3 separate regions of the Homo sapiens genome follow, and all the other regions are linked to region 2. The links are contacts of gene promoters, found by promoter capture Hi-C in human tissues and cell types (Jung and others, 2019). All regions are on one chromosome and are shown on one strand. The core of a region is centred on a gene start or on the middle of the fragment in contact, and the rest is flanking DNA. Distances in the headings are between cores, read along the strand shown.

Evidence for each region. The method cuts DNA at HindIII sites, captures the fragments that hold promoters and counts their contacts. A contact is called where the count stands out against the background at its distance.
Region 1: the fragment with the promoter of C5orf15 here is called in contact with the fragment with the promoter of AFF4 in region 2 in 1 of the 25 tissues and cell types used here (aorta).
Region 3: the fragment with the promoter of VDAC1 here is called in contact with the fragment with the promoter of AFF4 in region 2 in 1 of the 25 tissues and cell types used here (dorsolateral prefrontal cortex).

What each region holds. Positions count from the first base shown.
Region 1 is chr5:133,967,162-133,970,535 of GRCh38, reverse strand. It overlaps C5orf15 (chromosome 5 open reading frame 15), which reads left to right and starts at 1,911. Exons shown (of 3, transcript NM_020199.3): 1 at 1,911-2,090. The coding sequence starts at 1,952. LOC105379183 (a long non-coding RNA gene) reads right to left here and starts at 1,847. Exons shown (of 2, transcript NR_134247.1): 1 at 1,744-1,847; 2 at 313-785. RefSeq lists enhancers at 1,768-1,987, 2,618-2,717. The HindIII fragment of the contact is 9,621 bases long and covers 797-3,374 here.
Region 2 is chr5:132,961,785-132,965,170 of GRCh38, reverse strand. AFF4 (ALF transcription elongation factor 4) reads left to right here and starts at 1,537. Exons shown (of 21, transcript NM_014423.4): 1 at 1,537-1,912. AFF4-DT (AFF4 divergent transcript) reads right to left here and starts at 1,359. Exons shown (of 2, transcript NR_186175.1): 1 at 1,037-1,359; 2 at 481-930. RefSeq lists a silencer at 1,243-2,082. The HindIII fragment of the contact is 9,387 bases long and covers 1-3,386 here.
Region 3 is chr5:134,002,879-134,006,381 of GRCh38, reverse strand. VDAC1 (voltage dependent anion channel 1) reads left to right here and starts at 1,407. Exons shown (of 9, transcript NM_003374.3): 1 at 1,407-1,487. RefSeq lists enhancers at 564-633, 674-733, 804-923, 2,574-2,623, 2,634-2,683 and silencers at 1,094-1,143, 1,184-1,243, 1,304-2,343. The HindIII fragment of the contact is 12,628 bases long and covers 1-3,503 here.

The sequences.
Region 1 (3,374 bases), core at 662-3,161, 1.0 Mb before region 2:
GACTGAAGTGCACTGTCATCATCATAGCTCACTGCAGCCTTGAACTCCTGGGCTCCTGTGATCCTCCCATCTCAGCCTCCCGAGTACTTGGGATTACAGGCATAAGCCTGGCCCTAAAATATTTAAAAATGTATAAAGGGTTCTCTTGAGTATGAGGGAATATTTCCCTCACTAGTTACTTATTGTCTGCTTGTTGCATGCAGCATGTTGGAATATCATTGTGCAAAATGCTTTGAGTTCATAATATCTCACCAGTTAAGAGAATTGAGACAATCTGGTATGAGGACACAAATGGACAAAGTGGACAATGAGTCAGGGAAGAGGACTGCAGTGTGTTTATTATAGATTAACTTTAAAGTCAACAAGCAGAAACTAAGATTGAGAAGCTCATTTGTTGAACTGAGTGGTTTTACAGAAAACTTAAGTACCGCTCAGAGAAGGGAAGCTCCTGGGGGACTGGGAGGACTTTGCACCTTGGCTAAAGTGGAGAGTTTGCAATAAGGACACCATTCAGTCTAATACGGGCTTCTGGGGGATTTCGGGAAATGTGCAGATGAATGACTTCTTAGTTTTCTTAACACAGAGTTTGTGTGTTTCTGAGCTGTCACCAGGGTGAGATAAAAGCTTAGGGGAAACCAGATTCAGGAGTAGAACACAGGCCCTTTAGAGAGACAGCTCAGCTGTGTCTCTGGGGGATAACAGCAATCTTCGCAGGGAATCATAGAGACCAGAATGGTGAAGCTGTGGGCACAATAAATGTCTTGCTTAACGTCACATTGATTTTCCTGAAATTGATCAAATGGAACTTTTATGAATTGAAGCCTGTATCTGTTTATTAAGGAGACATTTACAGAACGTACACACAGAGCAAAGTATGGCGCCAGGGCCCTAGGTGAACTTCTTGGAAGTTTGTAAGTTTGCATTTTTATACACTGGGGATTTCAAGTAACAAAATTTAAAAAGAGAAGCTTATTTTAGGAAATCTGAAAGTTATTTTCAATGGCAGCCCCTCACCTCTACTTCCTAGCTACCTTCCTTTCTTTTCCTCCATAATTTTTTTTTTTTTTTTGAGACGGAGTCTGTGGCCCAGGCTAGAGTGCAGTGGCATCTCGGCTCCCTGCAGCCTCCACCTCCCGGGTTACAGCGATTCTCCTACCTCAGCCTCCCGAGTAGCTGCGATTACAGGCACGCGCCACCACGCCTGGCTAATTTTTGTATTTTTAGTAGAGTCGGGGTTTCTCCATGTTGGCCAGGCTGGTCTCCAACTCCGGACCTCAGGTGATCTGCCCTCCTCGGCCTCCCAAAGTGCTGGGAGCCACTGCACTAGGGCCGGTCCATAATATCTTTATCATCTTGTATAGTGTGTATTTTACACCATATTCGCCCTCACAAGAAAATAAACTGCCAAGGCGGGCGGGGGGGTGGGGGGTTCTTTTTGTTCACTGCTGTATCTTAAATAGGGAGAGGTGCTAAATCTTTGTTGAAAAAAAATAAATGACTGTCGGGAAAGATTTTTAAAAATTACTTATAATCCCATCACCGAAATAGGACTACTTAACATTTGTGTTTCTTTCGCCTTTGAGAGAGGAAGAGCAGTTACTTCGCTTTCGTGATCAGTCTGTTCTACAGCTGGATCTTCCTTTTTAAAATGGCTAAAAACGCTATTTTTGGCTGTATAGTACCCAATCATGCAGGCGGCAGGGAGGGGCTCGCTTTGGCCCTCTTCAGCACGTCACACCCTACCTTTAATCCGCAGCCAACTGTGTGGCGGTCCCCACTTTCGCCTAGCGGCAACTCCCTCCTCCCTGCAATCCTTCCTTCTTATTCCGGTTTCCAGAGCACGTCTCCAGGCTTCGACGTCACCACGCTGGGACGTATGTGCCGAGGGCCGCGGCGTCTGACCTCATGGCGTAGAGCCTAGCAACAGCGCAGGCTCCCAGCCGAGTCCGTTATGGCCGCTGCCGTCCCGAAGAGGATGAGGGGGCCAGCACAAGCGAAACTGCTGCCCGGGTCGGCCATCCAAGCCCTTGTGGGGTTGGCGCGGCCGCTGGTCTTGGCGCTCCTGCTTGTGTCCGCCGCTCTATCCAGTGGTAAAGGGGGGCGGCAGTGTGGGCTTAGGAAGGCTAGGAGGGCTCGGGCGCAGGGCAGGAGACAGGCCGGGCCAGGGAAAGGGCGCTTCCAAGTGTCAGGAGCAGACGGCGGTGTCTGGTTGGGTCAGGGTCTCCGCGGGCCTGAGGACGGAGGGTATGGTGTCTGAAGGGGTCCAAGGTGGTAGGGTCTCCAAGGGGCCTGAGAAGCGGGGTCCCTGAGAGATGCAGGAACCCAGGGAGCAGGCAGCAGGGTGTGTAGATGGGCGGGGAGGGAGGAGTGGTGTTAGCGCCTAGAGATCGTTGAAGAATGGGCTGCCGCAAGGAATGGCGGTGGTGGGGTCTCCAAAATTTCTTGGATCGGAAAGTTAGGAGACTCTGGAAGAGAGGGTGGCGACAGGGGCTGAGGAGGTGGCCGGGGCTGGGGGTGTGGTGTCTGGAAAGGGTCCTGAGTTTGGGGGACTCAGGAATCTTGCAGGACCAAGGAAAGGTGGGGGTTTTCCAGAATGGGAGAGGTCAGTGGTAAAGACCGAGGCGGGCAGGGGCAGTAATCCAGTGACTGGACTGAACCAATGGAATATTTCCGAGAGGGAAAGTGAAAGGGAAAGAGCTGTCTTAGGGTACTGGTGCATATTTGAAGACTGGGAGGTTCTGGTGTTTGATAAAGATTCAGAGTACTGGGGCGTTGGGCCCCTGAAGGCTTGGGAGGCAGAGAGGAGTTTGGAGACAAGGGAGATCATGATTCCTCTTCCCTGTGTTCCGAGTTAACCAGGATAACCCTGCCTCGTTTTAATGCATCTGTAGGATTTGATTGATAAAATATTTCATTTCTTGCAAATGTTGCATGGTGAAATCAAGAGATTGAAGGCTTTTATTGAGAAATTAGGAAATCTGTAAACCAGTGCCTGATACTTGGTGGGAAAAATCCACTATTAAGAACTTGTAAGGATTAAACGGTATTTTGTTTAGTAGTCCCATTTTTCTTTCAGGCCAAGACACAGTCCTGCGTTTCTCCCTAAATTTGAATTTTCAGCTGCAAAACAGTGTGACCTGGTATAGTGTTTTCTTTCTTGCCAGCAGGGCCTGTCCAGCCCTACATTCCTCTGCGACAGTACTGTGGGTACATACTTATGTTTCCTCAGCAACATTTCAGTGTTGCTAACTGGACGCCCTCCCAGAAGTCTTTGCAGTCCCTGAGGAAGGACTGCTGTCCATTTCCTAAGGCCCTTTTATCATTAGTGAAATGTAATGAGGATTTCCCTGGTTGATGCAGATATTCCCGTTCCT
Region 2 (3,386 bases), core at 288-2,787:
AAGACATTTTTTTCTTTTTTCTTTTTTTGAGACAGGGTCTCACTCTCATCCAGGCTGGATGGCAAGCTCCCGGCTCACTGCAGCACCGACCTCCTAGGCTCAAGTGATCCTCCCACCTCAGTCTCCAGAGTAGGTGGGACTATACGCATGCACCACCACGCCCGGCTAATTTTTGTATTTTTCATAGGGATGGGGTTTTGCCATGTTGCCGGGGTTGGTCTCAAACTCCTGGTCTCAAGCGATCAGCCCCCCTCGGCCTCCTAAAGTGTTGGGATCATAGGCCTGAGCCACTGTGCCCAGCCTATCCAAGATATTTGAAGTGAGAAAAAAAGGACTGAACAGCGTATATAGTGTGTTACCTTTTGTGTAAAAAGAAGTATCCCTATATTTTAATGTATTACTTACAAATATGTAGGGAAAGATACATTATTAAATGCTAAGTGATTGCCTTCCAGGACTGAAACAGCTAACAGACAGAGATGGGAGAATCAATTATTTTTTATTCTGTCATGTTTTGAGTTTTCTATTAAGACATTTCCTAATTTATATAGCTCTATAGAGAAAATGCATATAAAGAGTGAAGCTTAAAAGAAATAGTAGATGTTTAGAGGTGAAAGAAGTGTTCAGAATGATATGCTGAAGAAAAACATTAGTGGGCCGGGTGCGGTGGCTCACGCCTGTAATCCCAACACTTTGGGAGGCCCAGGCGGGTGGATTGGTTGAGGTCAGGAGTTCGAGACCAGCCTGGCCAACATGGTGAAACCGTGTCTCTATTAAAAATACAAAAATTAGCCGTAGGTGGTGGCTCCCCCCTTTAATCCCAGCTACTCCGGAGGCTGAGGTACTAGAATCGCTTGAACTCGGGAGGCGGAGGTTGCAGTGAGCCGAGATCCCGCCATTGTACTCCAGCCTGGGCGACAACAGCGAGATCTATCTCAATAAATAAATGAAAAGGAAAACATTAGTGGCAGAAGATGTTTAAATGACGAAGAAAGAGGGACGGTTTGGCTTCTTAGGGTAAGTTTACTGGAAATACCGAACAGCCTCCTGCGTCCTTTGCCTTTTTGCTGGACCTCTTGAGGACTCGAGGCTTCGACACCTGGAAGCAAGTCTAGGAAGCTCCGGGTTGGGCCGGATCCCCACCAGAGGCGAGGGGCGGAAGGCCTGGGTTTGTCACCTGAGCCCCAGAACCGGCATATCCGGTTCGGCCCGGCCCCGCCCTTCGGAACCTCACTAGCGGGCTACGCGCAGGAGGGCGTGAGCTCCCGGATGTGCAGGCCCTGTACTGCCGTGGCAGCCCTGCCGGACGCGGCCGCAGTGCCCAGAGGCTCAGGCCTATACCGCTCGGGCGGGTCCTTTGCCTGGCCCGGGTCATCAGACCCCACAGCCGGGAACGTCACCACCCCGGGCGTCGCCTCCCGGCCCAGCCGGCCCACAGACCCCCGCCCCCTACTCCCCCAGCGGGGAGGGGCGCAGAGGCATCACGTGACGCCCCGCACCCGCCCGGTCTTGGTCACATGGTGGCACGGCCGCTGCGTCAGTCACAGCCCTGGCTGCAGGAGTCCAGCTGCCGTCGCCGCCGCCAGCGGACGGGGCGGGGATCCTGGTGCCAGGTCTTCGTTAACCCGCCCCCGCCGCCTCAGTCAGCTGTCCCAGCCCGGGCCCGACCGTCATGGAGCGGTGCGGGGCCTACGCCTGTTCCGTGTGAGGCGCATCGCTGCCGCCGCCGCCGACGCCGCCTTCGTTTGTCGAGGCCTCCGGAACCCCCGCCGCCTCCCGGAGCCCCTCGCCCTTGGCAGCCTGTCACCGCCCCCTGGGCGGGCTCGAATGCGCGTCCGGTGAAGGTGCAGGCCCGGCGCCGCCACTGCCGCAGCCAGGAGATGGTTCGGGCCTAGCGGAGCCGGGACTGGAGGTAAGAAGGGCCGACAGACTGACCCAGGGCCGGGCCGGGCCGCGGGGGTTGTGGCCGGGGCCGGGTGGGGGTGGGGGCCCGCAAGTTCTGCGGGGAGCCTCGGGGAGACCCTCCGGGCTGGGGCTGCTCAATCAGGCGTCACCCCTCCTCTCATCTGCGCGTCCCACCCCACCACCTTCCCGCAAAGATAAGAAAATAAAAAAAGCTAACCCAATCCTAACAAAAATTCCCAGAAATCCATCCGTTTAGTGTTTCTCCTTTCCTCTTTCTTTCCTCAGACGTTCCATCGGCTGATTTGTTACTTTTTCATATCCTCCTCAATTTCAAATTATGTCTAATTAAAGAGAAAATAGGCCCAGATTCTGGCTAACATTACCCAGCTAGTTCTCGCTTTCCTTCTCGCGATCCTGCGCACCTCTCCCACACCCCCACCCCCGCAAAAAAAAAAAAAAAAGAAGGAAAAATTTCCGCCTTCGACTTGCGAAGGGGATTGACTAAAAATGGGAACGTGGGGGTATAATACTCGAATACCCTCCCCTACAACTTCTGAATCGGTCTGTTACCTAGTTATCCCAGTAGCTTGTGCGTGGATATTGATGTTTAGGCCTTTCCTCCAGCTGCCTGTGCTTGGGGTTAATCTCGTAATTGACGTCAGTGCTTTGTTCCTTCTACTTTGCTGTTCCTTCCACTCTTTGAGGATGGATCATGGAGTACAGGAGTTTTGGGAGTAACCTTATTGCCTTTTCGTTTACAAACAGTATTATTTTCAGGAAGTGGAAGTACGAATCTGAAATGTTTGTATATGGAGTTCAAGGCGAAGAGTTCGATTTAGGGTTCTCGTAGTTTTGTCAGTTGTAATTCAGAATTATGCGGTTTCTTCCCTGCTGGCCACATGGAAATTTTATACTAAGGCCAGTCACTTTTCCATTGACCAGTGTTTTTCTTGATGGAATCTAAGCTATAGGTGTCTGTGAATAGACTGTAAATGTAACATAAAATGTGTGCTGTTTTTCGGGCTCAGATATGAAAAGCGCAAAGCTTCGTTTCTGTATTGATTCTGCACTTCATAAAGTGCTTTTTAAAACTTAACTGGTCTTTAACTTATCAAAATTGAAATATTTATGAGAACTTTCTTAATTTGGGATTTGATAAAGAGCCTTTGTGGTCTGTGAGTCTGCCTAGAATCATCTTTGGTCATACGTGCATAAAGAAGTGTTGGCAAGTGGCCACTTGGTTTTCAACAAAGCTGGCTTCTTTAAATTTCTCAGATTCGTTTTCCTTATTATCACTGCATCTTTCAGCTCCTAAATATAAGAAAAATTCCCAGTAAGTTATTTTAAGTTATCTTTCAGAGTTAACTTACTAAAAACCTGGAAGCAGTCAAATTTTTCTTTTTTTATTACCAGCAGTTTCATTCAATTTGCGGTGGTTTGCAGGCTGGTACTTTGATTTTTGTTAACTCTCTAGAAACAGT
Region 3 (3,503 bases), core at 158-2,657, 1.0 Mb before region 2:
ACTGGGTTGCACCGGCATCTGTTCCTAGCCCTGTGGGGTTCCTGGAGCCCCGCCTTGTCCCGCCCGGCCTCCCTGAGTTCTTGTCCTCCCCCTGCCCACCAGTCTCAGTGTGCGGGGTGGGGACCACCAGGCTGGGAAGCCCAGAGTTCCCAGGCAACTCGTGCGCCTGGGAGGGTCATAGAATCCGTCCTACACTCCTCAGGATCTTGAAGGGGGCTCTTCCTTACATTCCCAGTCACCCCTCCCCCAGCCCCTACACAGGGCCTAGGTAACCTGTCTGCACCCCACTCCCACTCTGTATCAGCTGCCCTCTTCCTCAGCACCCTATCCCACTGGAGCACCTTTTCCAACTCCAGTCGCCACTTTTAATCTGCCGCCTTTTCCCAGCAGCCAGTCCTGATTGCCTCCTCCGTAGCCCCAGTTGCCCACTGCTTTAGATAGTGTCGCAGCTGGCTGTGAGGAGTGTCCTGATTCTGTAACCCGGCACCTCCTCCACAGGGCCCTAGACGCCTCAAGCCTTCCAGGACGTTTGTTGATCAAAGGCGAAGGATGTGTAGAATCTTCGTCCATCTACGAATTAATTCTCGAAACCTGCTTCGAGTGGGCCTCGCGCGTAACACAGGGGACACTCAGTGGTGAACGAGACCACTCGCTTAGGCCTAGCAGCGAGGTGACCGTTCACTCAACACACACTAACTGGGTCCCGCAGGACACGCCCCGGCTGGTCGCGGGGGTTACCCGGGGTGCCCTCAGTCGGCCGGCCGGCCATAACCGGCGTGATCTCCTCGCGCCGAGAGACCCAGCAGGGACCTCGCAAAACCCAATCCACGTTTTGTTTTATTTTGTCTTTTTGCCTCTCAAATGCATGGAAATTGGCTGCTAGTAGCTTTGCTACAGGAGAAAATCGCTAATCTGTAGTGCAAAATCGGCGCACAGGGGTTTTCTCTGAGATTGTCTAGACGCCGCGCGGGCGGGTCGGAGGCGCCAGACACATTGTATCCGGAGCGCGGAGCTCGGGAGCAACAGTCGCCGCCTCTACTCTGTATCTGCGCCGCCCCAGGCGCCCAGTGTCCGCGCTGGGCCTGGGACTGCCCTCGGGGGATGGGGCCCACGCGGGCTTTGATGGGGGGCCGGGGGCCACTTTGTCCACCCAGGCGAGGCTTGGGTCCAGCGCCGGCCACATCAACTCCCGGGGGATCTAGCAGCGCGGAGGCCAAGCAGGAGGCCCAGGAGCCCCGCGCGTCTTCCATTAGCGCAGGGACCTCCGGGCCACAGCTCAGAGAATCGGAAGGCCTCCTCCCCCTTCCCGAGCGCTGCCACTGGGGCCGAGGTTTCCAGCAAGAACCCGCGTGTCCCTGCGCACGCACACACGGTGCACACGTCAGTCCGGCGCCTCCCCGTGCCCCGACTCACGCAGGTCCTCCCGCGCGCCCGCAACACGCCCGCAGGCTCCTGTGTCTGCTGCCGGGGCAGCGGGGCCCGGAAGGGTAAGAACGCGGCTCGCTAGCGGGATGGGGACCCTGGCCCGGCCTGGACGCTGTCCCGGGCGGGGCCTGGGGGCGGAGCGCGCCGGGCCGGGCGCGCAGGAGGGGAGGCGGGTCCGCGCCGCCGCCGTCCGCGCCGCCCCGCCCTTGGCCCAGCCGCTCGCTCGGCTCCGCTCCCTGGCTCGGCTCCCTGCCTCCGCGTCGCAGCCCCCGCCGTAGCCGCCTCCGAGCCCGCCGCCACATCCTCTGAGGTAGGCGCAGCGGAAAAGGACCCCGGCTTCCTTGCGCCCTGGACGGCGGGGGCCAGGCCCCTGGGGAGCTGAGAGGGAGGCGCTGAGGGAGGAGCGGGCGAGGGGCCCCGGCAGCCCGGCCGCGGGGAGGGATCGCGAGCGGCCGGCGCGGGCCTGGCTGGTGAGCGGGCGGGCAGAGAAGGCCGCACAGGCGGGTGCCGAACAGGTCTGGGCTGGGGAGCGCGAGGCCGAGGGTCCAGAGACGCCTGCGGCTGGCGGCGAGAGGCGGCCCGGGCTTGCGGGCGGAAGTGCAAGGGCGGCCGCGTGGAGGCCCGGCGGGCCGCGCGTCTAGGTGACCTTCCCCGGCGGCGCCCTCTGGCCCTGGATCCCACCAGCGTGCATCCGGCGGGGACCCGTTCGCCGCCCACGCTCGCCGGACCAGGCCAGCGGGCGGGTGCCGGCCACGCTGCCGCCTCGGGGATGAGCTCACGTGACGACCGTGGCCCCGAGTCCCCAGGCCCACGCGCCCTGGCCGGCCCACGCCCGCAGAAGCTGGCGCCCGGCACCGCCCGCCTGTGCCAGAGCCTTCTAGAGCGGAACGCGCCGGCCGAGAGTCGACTTAGGCGGTAGAGGCCGGAGCTCGGGCCTGGGCTGAAGGTTTGGCCTCGGAAAAGGAGGCCCCACGGGGAAGGATGTGGCCTTCTTGGTCTTAGGAGTGATTACTGGTTCGGTCGTTCATTCATTCGCCAAATGCGGCGGTGCATTCTGGAAACTGTTTCGGAGCCTGACTTTGGATTAGAGGCCCGCAGTCTTAGTGGTTTGTACAAGGTCACACAGCTGGGAAGTCCCCATACCTTCGTTTTCTCATCTATAGGACGGGAGCAATTGTACCTCTCCTTCGATGAGTTTTGGGGAATAATAAAATGAATTAATTAGCATGAAACCTTTAGAACAGTGCCGGTGTGGAGAAGGGCTAAGTAGAAACCCTGACACCCTTGGGGCTTTTTGGGTGAATCCAGCCCATCCCCCGCAGACCATTTTGCTACACGTGGCGTTGTGGAAGGGGTTCAATAAATGTAGCTCCTGTTTTTAAACATTCTTTCACTATTATTGACAAGCATTTGTATACCAGGTATTGAGTAACTTTCAGCTTAATTTATGAAAAATCTTGTAAGTTTACAAATGGACATTGTCAAGCTGGAGCAGTAAGTTTGCATGTGGAGATCTTGAATGCAGGAGCAGACCCTGGTTTAGAGCCCGTTCCGCCCGGGGTCCCTGTCCCCTTGACTAGCCTCCCCTCTCCTGGGGAGATAGGGGAAAGGGCTCCTCTGTTGCCTAAACTTCTCCACTGAGGCAGGAGAAGGCCAGAGCAGACTACCGAGGGCCAGCCTTCATTCTGCCCACCCCAGCTCTGGACCAACTCAGCTCCTAAGGGTCAGACTGAGGCACTGAGGCCCTGTGCTACTTTGTCTTCAGTGCCTGGGGTGGTGCTGCCTGGCACACAGTAGGTGCTTGAGAAGGGTCTGTGGGGGTAAATGCACTCTTGTGTCAGAATCCACCCATCTTTACTGACAGAGTTTTACTATTCCAGTACATGGCCCATAGTAGGTGCTTATTGAGTATTTGTGGAATTATTGAATGGGCATATGAAGGGCTGCAGGCCCAGACCATAGTCCTTTGATCCTGGACTTTTTTTTTTTTTGAGACAGGGTCTTGCTCTGTTGCCAGGTCTGGAGCGCGGTGGCACCATAACGGCTCATGGCAGCTTCTGTTTCCTGGGTTCAGGCAA